2 separate regions of the Homo sapiens genome follow, and region 2 is linked to region 1. Evidence: promoter capture Hi-C in 16 types of primary human blood cells and fetal thymus (Javierre and others, 2016). All regions are on one chromosome and are shown on one strand. Each heading gives the region's core, a stretch centred on a gene start or on the middle of the fragment in contact. The rest is flanking DNA. Distances are from core to core; before and after follow the strand shown.

Region 1 (6,476 bases), core at 1,913-4,412:
AATGCTAACCTTAGGCACACCAATCCATTCAGTAAAAAGAAAACACTAATTACTGCTTAGTAACAACAGCAGGATTACCTACTATTTATTGGATGCCTTCATACAGTAGGAACATTGCATTTATTGTTTTATTTATTCCTTACAATGAGCCTGAAATGGGGTTCAGTGAGTCTGGTGAAATGGGTTTTCTAGATGAGAGGTGGCATGAAGATAAAATATGGTCATAATTGCACACAAGCTTGGAAGAAGAGAAAAATTGTAAGAGCTATGATGTAAAAAACAAATTATTTGGCATACCAATGTCTGTAACATACTTTGAAACGCATAAAAAATAAGAAGGACCTTTCTGCTATAGGCCTGAGTGGTTGCTGTTGAAAAGGGCAAGTTCCTGAAACCTGGGAAACTGGTGGTGGTCCTGGCCAGATGCTACTCCGACGCAAAGCTGTCATCGTGAAGAACATTGATGATGGCACGTCAGATTGCCCCTACAGCCACCGGATATCCCCTTGGACAAAACTGTTATCAATAAAGATGTCTTCAGAGACCCTGCTCTTAACCACAAGGCCCAATGGGAGGCCAAGGTCAAGTTTGAAGAGAGGAACAGATGGGCAAGAACAAGTGGTTCTTTGAGAAGCTGCAGTTTTAGATACTTTGTTTTGGTCATTAAAATTTTTTTTTAAAAATTAAGAAGGATGGATGGACAGATATAATAATGGCTAGATATGTGATGAGGCAAATATAGCAAAACGTTAATTACAGACTATAGGTGCTCGGTATCAGGATGCTTACTGTACAATTCTTCCAATTTTTCTATATGTTTGAAATTTTTCATAATAAAATATTGGGAGGGAAATAGATTCCATATTTTCTGATATTGTAAAAATGATTAAAATTACATTAAAAGTTCAATTATTCATTCAAAGTGGAAGTGCTTAAAGTTTAATGATATTTATGCAAGTTTTACTCATTACGTTTTATAGTGAGGTGTGCAGAAAGAGACTCATTATTGCATTTGTATTTCTAGCAATGTCTAGTTCCTGGCCCTCGCTGAACTTCCCAATTATCTTGTGGTCCTGGATCATCTTTAGAAAACCATGAGGAATACCAATGGGCACAATTATTGAAAGGTCACCACCCCCTCACTTGATTTTTGCTTTGGCAAATGATTTTGTGATCTGTTCTTAGCAATTAGAATTTAATCACCTTGGCTAAATCAATATGCAATAAAGAAATAAGCAGCCCTTTTTAAGTGGTCTATCTCCATAACAGAGCCATTTCATGTTTTTGTACTGCAGAGGTCATTTGCTGTCAATATGCCACCTTCCTCAACATCCTTTTATCGATCACAGCCATCAAGAACTCATTCCAATTGTCGTGATTTTTTAATCAAGTTCATAATGAATTTGCCCATCTTATCCTATTCCTAAAGTTAAAATGATCTGGCCAATTCCACAACTTCCTGTAGTTTGAGTTTTCACTGCATTGTCTTAATTGAGCAAGAAGTCTTTGAAATGGTTTTCAAAATAAACAGCTTCCAATGGGGCATCTGAAACACCAAGAGTAATCACTGTTGTTAGCTTACGCTCAGGAGGGGATAGGATAAGGGGGCAGATGGTGGTTTGTCCCTCAGAAACTCTTGCCTCATTTTCATCACCTAATTCTTAAAAATTCTTTTTCCAGTTGCCTTTGCTGACAGGCAGTGAAACAATAACTTAGTAAATTTACAAAAAAAAATTAAAAGCACCTCGTGTCAAAAATAAGCACAGAGTTATGAAAGAGAGAAATGCTGGACTTCTAAGGGTTCCATGTGCTTGTGACCCCACAGCTGGAGCTGCCACTGCAGAGAGGCAGTGTGGAGGGGGTAGTCTGTCCAGGAGGAGGGCTGATGAGCCCAGAACCTCTCCTGGATCTTTCTGGTCATTCCCTATCCAGGAAGAAAACCATTTAAAAGTGCAAGGTGATATTCAAGGTGTCTTCCTTTGTCAACTTGACATACAGTTCTAAGTGAATTGCTTAGGCTATTTTGCATAATCATATGTAAATTGAATCAATTAAATCCCCACCAAAGTTGTCTTGAAATATAGGATGTTTTTGCATAACCAGAGGTACAACAATATTTGTCCGTTCCCCTAGAGGGGAAGGTGTCACTGATGTGCAGGAATTCAGCCACAAGGACAAAAACAAACCATCCTTTTTAAGAACTGTTAAAACCTAATGCAGTGAGCATTTTCTATCAGCCAGGAAAAATGATCAGTAGTTAAGGGCAATGCATGGTTGTAGCATCTCACCTACATACTCTTTTTAAACATGACAGTCTAGCAATATGGATAAAGATTGAAAACAGTTTGCAATATTCTTTGAAACAACAGACTAACTGATACCCTGTTACAGGGCACCATGGAGCAAAACATCCTAGTGAGTTTCAAAAAAGACGAATTAGACAAATGTAGGAACAAGAAGCATGTCTGCATGCGATTAGTGGCCCCTCTGGCTTGAAGGTTAAAACTACCATCAACACAATAAAAAGATGGGAGACATAAACAAATAAAAGCGTCTGCATCTACCAACTACAGGCTCCAAGGAACAATCGACCTGCTAAGTAATTTAATAGTACAAACTAGATAACAGTAGGAAAGTTTTGACTACTTACACCAATTCTGCAAATACCAGCAAGTACTGCAGAAGCACCCATTTCCTGCTATGCTATTGAAACCACTCATCACACATCTTTCTTGAGCATATTGCTTAGGGAACGGGTCTCTGCATTGCTGATGATTCACTGTCAATTTCCATTAAAGAAATAGTTCAAGAGGAAAGTGAATATTTAGAGTGAGGTCATCAAGGATATTTTTGTTCAAAAATATTTGTTAATACTTTTTTACTAGTTGACATGTATTTGCTGGGTGCCCATCATGTGATGCTCTGTATGAGATGCTGACTAGTTACAGTTCATCAAGTTTCTGCGGATGACATGACATAACTTTAGGTGGAAATGGAGGCAGTTTACCTCCACCTGAAGCAAGTCCATTTTCCATAGTTTGAAGCATACAATTGCTACCTGTTGGGTAGTTATTTGAGAAAAGGAAGCCTTGTGGGCAGGAGAGCACTCTCTATAGGAAGCCTGTCATCTGCCTGAAGCAGGACAAGTCAGGACAAGTTTCAGAAGATAAGCATGTAGAGAAGACAGGATGAGTGTGAGCTGTTGAATGGCGATTTGGTTTTTTTCTGAAGCAGTTACTATTTGCCTTTTTAAGGGAAAGAGTCCCAGAAGTTTTCAGCCCTCACCTGAGGACACCGGTCCCAGAGCCACAGTCAAAGCGGAACTCCACGTGGCCCCCTGCCAAGTTGATGGACAGGAAGTCTTTGCTGCCTGTGTCATAGCTGTACAGGAGGACACCATCTCCTGAGTCTGGCCGAAATGTGATCTCAAATTCCATGAAGGAAAGGTAATGCTGGGGCTCCAGTGGCCAGGGAGTTGCAGCGTAAGATCTCAGAGACTCTCTGAACTGAGGAATGGTCAAGGTGAAAGCTGAAAAAACAAGCATGGTGTTAGAAATCCCTCTGTGGCAGAAACTGGCCAGATGTGCACCCATAGCTGTGTTCTTTCCCTCCTGGGTACAGACCTAAACTACAATTCCCAGCAGCCCTGCAGTTAGGTTGGTGGTGTGACTGAATTCTGGCCAGTAGAACATGGGTGGAAGAATCATAGAGCACCCTAAGTCTGGCCCCTAAAACTTCCCTCCATCCTCCATGCTCTTTCTCTCCTCTCACGTGCTGGCAGGATGCAAGTATCAGTGGAGGACTCTAAGGCCCTAGAAGAGCCATTAGATGGAAGGAAACTGTGTCCCTGTATAACTGTGTGGAGCAGAACCCCCTCTCTCACCACCATCTTTGACCTGCAGTGATTTTGTAATATGAGCAAGAACCAGCCTTGATTATGTAAGGCTACTGAAATATGAGCTGGTATGTAACAGCATTGGCTTACCCTGACTCACATGCCCTCTTTTAGGTGACATGAGATTTGAGATCACAAAAGTTTTCCCCAATATGGTATCTTAGGTCCAAATCTGAATTAGGGAAGAATTTGACTAGTTTTGTGATCTTAGCCTCAGTTTTATTTTCTTTTTATTTTAATTTCAGAATTCTGCAAAAATGATTTTCCAAAATCACTTTTGGAACCCTCCATGATTTTCCAAAATCTTTGAAATTTTCTGTTATTATTTGCCTGTGTGAGCGCACATATGTGTATTTGTGTGCATGTGTTTCCATGTTTATATACACATGTGTGTGCATGTATATATATTTACATACTCTCTGTATATACAGTATTAAAATGTGGCATAATTTAGTAGAACAGTACAAAAAAAGGTTACTTTTGTCCCATCACATTGTTAACGTTTCTGTGTCTACCTTCCCTATCTTTTTTTTTTTTCCCAAGATGGAGTCTCGCTCTGTCACCCAGATTGGAGTACAGTGGTGCTATCTCGGCTCACTGCAACCTCCGCCTCCTGGGTTCAAGCAATTCTCCTGCCTCAGCCTCCCGAGTAGCTGGGATTACAGCTGTGCACCACCACACCCAGCTAATTTTTGTATTTTTAGTAGAAACGGAGTTTCACCACGTTGGCCTCGTGATCCGCCCACCTCGGCCTCCCAGAGTGCTGGGATTATAGGCGTGAGCCACTGCGCCTGGCCTCATCTTCCCAATCTTTTATCAGAAATTGACAGAAATTCTAAAGAGCATGAGCCTGAGCTTTAAAGGCTTTGAATTCAGTCTGATACAAACCATACCAATACAGGCTTTTTAAAAGTTATTCAAGGGCCAAGAGGAGCCCACTGATTCTTAGCATCTTGAAATGAACATATGTTTGGCTGAGGGACGGAGGTGCCCTGCAGTAAGAAGTGCTGAAAGGCTCAACATCAGATGAGTGAGTTCTCATTACCAAACAAATTTTGGCACTCAGAGACACTCCAACCTTGTTTAAAAAGTTTCCCCCATCTCTCCCAACAAAGCAATGTTGATCCCATAAAAATGTATGGGGCTTTGTTAGATTTGTTAAAAGTACATTGATGAGGCCTGGCGTGGTGGCTCACGCCTGTAATCCCAGCACTTTGGGAGGCCGAGGCGGGTGGATCACTTGAGGTCAAGAGTTTGAGAGCAGCCTGGGCAACATGGTGAAATCCCATCTCTACTAAAAATACAAAAATTAGCTGGGCGCCTGTAGTTCCAGCTACTCGGGAGCTGAGGCAGAAGAGAATCACTTGAACCCGGGAGGCAGAGGTTGCAGTGAGCCGAGATGCGCCACTGCACTCCGGCCTGGGTAAGAGAGGGAGCCTTTGTCTCAAAAACAAACAAACAAATTAACAAAGAAACTATATTGATGATAAAGTACATCTACACAAATTAACATGCAGATAGAAACCGCCTTCAACTTGCTTCTTTCTCACCATCTTCACAGTGTCGACCTTTAAACCCAAGGGGACAGAGGCAAATGTAGGAGTCGGCTTTGATTGCTGTGCAGGTGCCACCATGGATGCACGAGGCCTCATCACAGATTCCACTGCTGCATTCCCCTAAATACAGAATGGGAATTACAAAGCCAATCCTCCATGTGTGCCAGTCCAACACAGTGGCGCTGACCCCACCAGCAGCTCATGGTTCTGAATAAATACATTTCAGTTCTTACTCCTGTTGATTTGCAGCTCTGCACAACTGCAAATGGGCTTTCAGGATAAGTGGAACCTGCTCTTCATTTTAATTTGATTTTGGTTTGTCCTGTATGAAGAGCCATAGAGACTTTAAAAAACATGATGGACACAATAAATCAAATAATACATTTCTGGGCAATTTTATGACCACTAACTGGGATGACTAAGCTGTTTCTGCTTTAATTCATCTCTCTCTTGCTCCCAACAGAGCATATTTCAATCCCTCCAATGTCAACAGGGTGTTTATGTTAAAAGCATTCTAAATTGCATGACCCCAATTAGCTTAAGTGCTGCTGCCTTGTTGGTTCAAAGTTGAGACAAGCAAGGTAGGCACAGAAGGAGTTACCCAGCCACGTCTAAGCTGATTAACTCACCTGGATTGTCAACTTCTCTGTCTGGGGTAGGGAGCAGGGAGGGAGGGCCCCATAATACATTGGCACATGGGTTTCAGAATCCCTATTTCTACTTCCAAAGTTACACCCTGATGAGGGACAGAAAGGTGGCCTGTGGTAAGAAGGCTGAAAGGCTCAACATCTGATGAGTGAGTTCTCTTCACCAAACAGATCAGAGAGATCCAGAAAGGGTATCCTTTGTCATTTTCAAGTGCAGGTCATCAGAGGAAAACAAATGGACTTTTCATGGGCTGTTTTTCTTCTGCTTCTTTGTGTTTTCTCTTTGTGTGTAAGAAATCAGTTAGACAGATGGACCACCATCTGGCCCAGAACCACATGAGGGAGTACAAAACACTTTTTCTGGGGGTGGAGGTAGAA
Region 2 (5,813 bases), core at 969-3,468, 340 kb before region 1:
GTGAAAGAGTGTGTGGAATGGGAAATGTCATTGTAAGCATCTTTGTGAAGTGCAATCTGCAACAACATCACAATCAGAAATCAAATTCAGACTCAACTAACTCCCAAGTCAAAACATTTAATCATTGTTATACTGCTTCACATATTCAGAAAAGCACTTTCCTCACTTCTAGAAAATAGCTGAAATTAAGAAATTTTGGTGCTTCTGAATTATTAGTTAATTGTTTATTCACTTATTCATCCAATATCTTCAGATACTATAGGTAGCCAGCATCTACAACAAGCCCAGGCATTGTTTGAGTGCACACAATAGTGAATAGAATAGACAAATCATTGGTCTCCTGGAGTGTAGAGTTCATTCTTCCACCATTGCATAAATAGTTTCATTTTAAATGATGGAATCAGAATCAGTTGTTATTAATGGCAAGCAATGGTCAGTTTTTGACCCTAAGGAATGTTGGAATGAAGCTCTTCAGAGAAGCGGAGGTCTGCACAGAGTTTAAAACTTAAGCTTGGCCCACAGTGCATAGCATTGTAAAATATTTAGAGTTCTTGGTGGCATGTATACAAGGAAGAATGTAAATTTTAAATATTTGCAGTTGATAAGTATAATTTATTATATGATAGTACTTGACACATACCAGCTTACCAAGAAAAATGCTTGAACGTTGCATTCAAGCAAATTAATTTTACATCCTGTCCTGGGGTCAAACTGTGGCTCTGGCTGACTGGCCAACAGTTGGTAGGCCAACTGCCAAAACAATCAGTGGGATCACTGTGCAATCCGATCCCCTCATTAAGACAACTGAGACGCTAACAACCAAATCCAATGGACTCTATAGCAATCGAATCAATTGCCCCACAATCAGATAGAACAGCTCTCCAATCAAATTAATTTAATTGTATTTGGTTTAGTTAAGTGACATGGTGCCTGTTCTCTCCTCATACATAGCATGACATAACGCTAGCTTTTGAAGGGATCCTGAAGAACAACTAGTTCTATGCTTCTCAAATTGGGAAAAAACTATGGGCAGTGTACACAGTCACCAGATAAATGTGGTGTGTCTTTCTGGATTGCTAAATTATCTTAAAATTTGATGGGAAGGGGGAGGATACGTTTATATATGTAAACAAGTACACATATATCATGGATTATGTATACTCTGACAACACTAACAAAAATTTCAATCTCAGTGATTTAAAACAGCAAAGCTTATTTCTTGTTTATGCTACACATCCGTCAGGGTCAGCTGGGGGCTGAGTTCCTAGCATTCTTCATTCCATGATTCAGATGAACAGAGAAGCCTTTATCTAGACCTCTACGTATTGCCTTAGTGGAAGAAAAGACTACAGTAGGCCGGGCGCGGTGGCTCACACCTGTAATCCCAGCACTTTGGGAGGCCGAGGTGGGCAGATCATGAGGTCAGGAGATCGAGACCATCCTGGCTAACAGGGTGAAACCCCATCTCTACTAAAAAAAAGTACAAAAAATTAGCCAGGCGTGGTGGCGGCCACCTGTAGTCCCAGCTACATGGGAGACTGAGGCAGGAGAATAGCGTGAACTCGGGAAGTGGAGTTTGCAGTGAACCGAGATTGCGCCACTGCACTCTGGCCTGGGGGACAGAGTGATACTCTGTCCCCCACTAAAAAAAAAAAGACAACAGTAAATCCAGAGGAAATAATGAGCTAGATCTTAATACTCCCACCTGGGAGTAGAATATGTCACTTCCACACACACACTTCATTGGTCAAATCATGTCACGTTTGACCCAGCTATTTTCAAAGCGGGGCAGGGAAGGGCAATCCTACCATGTGTCCAGAAGAACTAGAAATATTTGGTAAACAGTAGAGTCACCTGTCAGCCAAAGATGGCTGCACTCAGGTGAGTTGAACAAAAGTTGTAGTGAGCCCTGGCATGTCTGAGGAAGACCTGGACAGGCACTGGAACCTGGAGGAAGGAGAATATAAGGCTCAAGATGGAAAATCAGGAGCCAGATAGCACTTTCAAGGAAAACGTAATTTTAGGCATCATAACTAGAAAAATTAACCAGCTTCCAGAAGCAGAAAGGAAACTACTTGAACATGGATCAATATATGTTGAACTTAATGCTGTTCTCCGTGGCCTAATAGCAAACAGTCTTTTTCTATGCATCTTGAACATGACACAGGCTCATATAGCTGTCGGCTCACCAATGGCAGAGAACCCATTTCTGATAGTACATGTATTTTACAGAAGTTTTGTAAATTTACCTTTGAATTGAGGTCATTGGAATTTGAAACCCATACCATAAAATGAGGTGGATTGGTTGGTCTTGTTTTTGGTGGTCTTTTCTTGACTATACCTATGAATGGTGGCTTAGAAGCCAGATATGAATCAACTCTGTTATCAGAGAAAGGAAACATCTTAAGTTACTGGATTAGAATTTCTAAGCCTGACTTTAGAAAGATGTTGTGTATTAGTCAGGGTTCTCTAAAGGGACAGAACTAATAGGATAGATGTATATATGAAGGGGAGTTTATTAAGGAGTGTTGGCTCACACAATCACAAGGTGAATCCCACGGTAGGCCGTCTGCAAGTTGAGGAGCAAGAAGCCAGTCCGAATCCCAAAACCTCAAAAGTGGGGAAGCCGAGAGTGCAGCCTTCAGTCTGTGGCCAAAGGCCCAAGACCCCGTGGCAAACCACTTGTGTAAGTCCAAGAGTCCAAAAGCTGAAGAACTTGGAGTCTGATGTTCGAGTGTAGGAAGCATCCAGCACGGGAGAAAGATGAAGGCTGGAAGACTCAGCAACTCAAGTCCTTCTACACTCTTCCGCCTGCTTTACTAATAGCCTCGCTGGCAGCTGATTAGATGGTGCCCACCCAGATTGAGGATGGGTCTGCCTCTCCCAATCCACTGACCCAAATGTTAATTTCCTCTAGCAACACCCTCACAGACACACTCAGGAAAAATACTTTGCATCCTTCAATCCAATCAAGTTGATACTCAATATTATCTCTTACATGTTGGTTCCCATTTTGCTCCAGACTGTGTTTGCAGCATTCCTTTGGTATAGACAATATACAGTACTTATAAAAGCCCTTCAGTTACCAGAACCTAGCCTAGAAATTCACCGATTTTAAACAATATGTACACAAATGGTAATGAGAAAGATTTGGTGAACAGTATTAATGGCTACCACAGAGTAGGGTGCAAAGTTAAAATCTTTAGGGTAAAACATAAAGCTTCAAAATAGCCACTAAAATATTGACTAAATAAGGGAATCATAGAAAATGACATGTACTTGCCTGAAATGTTTTATCTTAAAAAACATAAATGTATTTTCACCCCCTTGTCTTTTGATGTCTAAGGGGATTTCTATGAGAATGGGTTCATCGATTGTCATTTCCCATTGTCTTTCTTGCTCATAATAGTTCTAAGTGCATTGTCCATGTGAGAAATTCAAGCCACTAGAAAAGCAAATGGTCTGAAAAGTCCCTCAAAATGTTCTACAATTCTTTAAAAGTCATCTCATAAACACATTACTGGAAGCAATTTTTTAATGACTTGCATTAATCATAAATTTCCAAGCCATTTAATTTAGTGTTTCCACATTCACTATTCATTTCAAAATATGTTAAACATACAGACAAGAATCTATCCTTGCATATCAACCACCTTGTTAGTTCAGCTTTCATAGAAATACCAGCTCTACTTCTTTTTGTACTCATATTCTTTACATTTAAATAATATTTAATTAAGTCATGTTATGTAAGTACAAAAGACACAAACAGTTTTGGGGATAATATGACTCAAGTAGCAGGAACAGAAATGTAAGGGCGTATCAGTGGCATACGGGCCACTAGCGTGAACCATTCCTGCTCGTCAGGAACTAGTAAGTAGACAGCGCCTGATGATAATCTGGTAAAGTGATTAAATTAAAAGACAGTGGATTAAAATTTGGTGGAAAAGTTGAGGAGCACTGATTCTAGTCCAATATTCTTATATTGCAATTAACGATCCTAAAGCTTAGAGGCTGTAAATTATTTAAATTCATTTATTTACTCATCCATTTACTTAGTGGTACATTCATAGGCAGTATAGTATAGTGGATAAGAATATAGTTCTGACACCAGATTGCCTGGGTTTTGATCCCAGTTCTGCTTGTGACCTTCAGCAAGTTTCTTAATGTTTCTTGTTCTCAGTTTCCTCAACTATAAAATGGTGAGAATAGGACCTATCTCACAGGGTTATTGTGAGGGTTAAATAAGATAATGGATGAAAGTGTTATGTAAATGTTAATTTATTATGATAAATTAATTCATCTGATGAATATTTGTTGAATAAATACCATGTGCCATGTGTTGTCCCTTCCCTCATGGAGTTCATAGTTGAATGTTCAGAGTCAGAAAATTGGCAGTAAGCTTTGAAATAATTTGTTACAATTTAGTTACATTCTGTCAGGAATTACAGGGTGGCATGAAGGAGGCTTTCATCTCTATATCCTCATTTTAGTACAGAGTATGGCACATACTAAGTGCTCATTAGAATATGTCTGGAATTAACAAATAAACATATGACTTCCCCAAAAATAATACTTATTTAATAGATAAGATGAACAAAAAGTAAAGTTATCTAATCTAGTGTTTCCAGTTCACTAAAATGCCTTCTTTAAATAGGTTTTTTAAGATTTGAACTTAGGTTAGTAGATCCAGAATTCTAACTTTTACATGATAAGTATTAGTGCATTTATGTTTATAAACTTAGGAAAAATACCAATAGAACATTATTACACATTTGAACCATGACTTCTATGTGCTTCAAAATGAGTTTCTTCATTTGTTGTGTTTTTTTTTAATTATATGAATCTTTTGACTAGCAAGGAATGTTTTTGAAAGATAAGTAAACAACGAAAGTTGAAATGTTCTATTGCCCCCAAAACCTAACCAAACAGACCCACCATTTAGCAGATCTCTGGGGCCTTCTCTAACTCTGATGACAAACACATGAAGGAAAACTTGGGCTCTCTGGAGCTCCTGGAGGAAATGCGGGAGGGATGTGCAAGTCTAGGTAGCTCAGTTCAAACTGAAGATTTACCCCCATAAACAGTGAAAAAAGATGTAATGATGCCAATAAAACTTTTCCAAGATGCACGATATGTTCTCCTGACTTCTTAAATAGAATGTTCTGAAAATTCAGTGTCCAGTTTTAGCATAGTCAATTATAGCTAAAAAATCCTCCCTAACTGGAGTTGTAAAGAAAAGAGTGGCCCCAGTCTATCTCTGTTTGTTCCTATTTCTCCCATGCGTAATAATTTCTGAGATGTGTAAAATGTGACATGACTGACAATGAGCAAACATATTTCTGGTTCCAAACATATACTTACCCCAAATCAAGGCCAAATCAAGATCCCATTATCTGCTAAGTATGCATATTTTTATGAACATTACAGGGCAGAATATTTAATATTTGAGATCTTTGGTGTTTAGGTTTTTTATAGGCACCCCTTGATGCAGATATTTGGCAGTGCTTTGCTATTTGGTTATTATCAAGAATTAACATAGATGATTAAGCCTTCAAAAGTCCATTTTGCTTGTGTTGTAGACTCCTCTGTTGTTCTTTGAAAGTCTGAACTATTAATACATCTCCTCATCTTTACTTATTCCATTTTCCTTCCTCTCTCCCTCTCCGCTCCCTTATCTTTTCTCTATCTCCCTCTCATACTCTTTTTCTCTCCTTCTCCTTCTTCTTCTTCTTCTTCTTCTTCTTCTTCTTCTTCTTCTTCTTCTTCTTCTTCTTCTTCTTCTTCTTCTTCTTCTGCTTGTTCTTCTGCTTGTT

Evidence for each region. Contacts are between HindIII fragments. The CHiCAGO score rates a contact against its expected background, and 5 or more counts as called.
Region 2: a fragment that was not itself captured here is called in contact with the fragment with the promoter of EGFLAM-AS1 in region 1 in 1 of 17 cell types (M1 macrophages); the score reaches 5.2 in M1 macrophages.

What each region holds. Positions count from the first base shown.
Region 1 is chr5:38,424,062-38,430,537 of GRCh38, reverse strand. EGFLAM-AS1 (EGFLAM antisense RNA 1) reads left to right here and starts at 3,162. Exons shown (of 2, transcript NR_046737.1): 1 at 3,162-3,446; 2 at 5,457-5,683. It overlaps EGFLAM (EGF like, fibronectin type III and laminin G domains), which reads right to left. Exons shown (of 22, transcript NM_152403.4): 13 at 5,446-5,571; 14 at 3,286-3,529. It also overlaps the pseudogene LOC124901186. RefSeq lists an enhancer at 2,741-3,940. The HindIII fragment of the contact is 14,108 bases long and covers 241-6,476 here.
Region 2 is chr5:38,760,450-38,766,262 of GRCh38, reverse strand. All of the region lies in intron 2 of OSMR-DT (OSMR divergent transcript), which reads left to right. It also overlaps the pseudogene LOC100132789. Among named protein-coding and RNA genes, the nearest start is that of LINC01265, 43 kb to the right of the region's middle. RefSeq lists a silencer at 642-936. The HindIII fragment of the contact is 2,009 bases long and covers 1,214-3,222 here.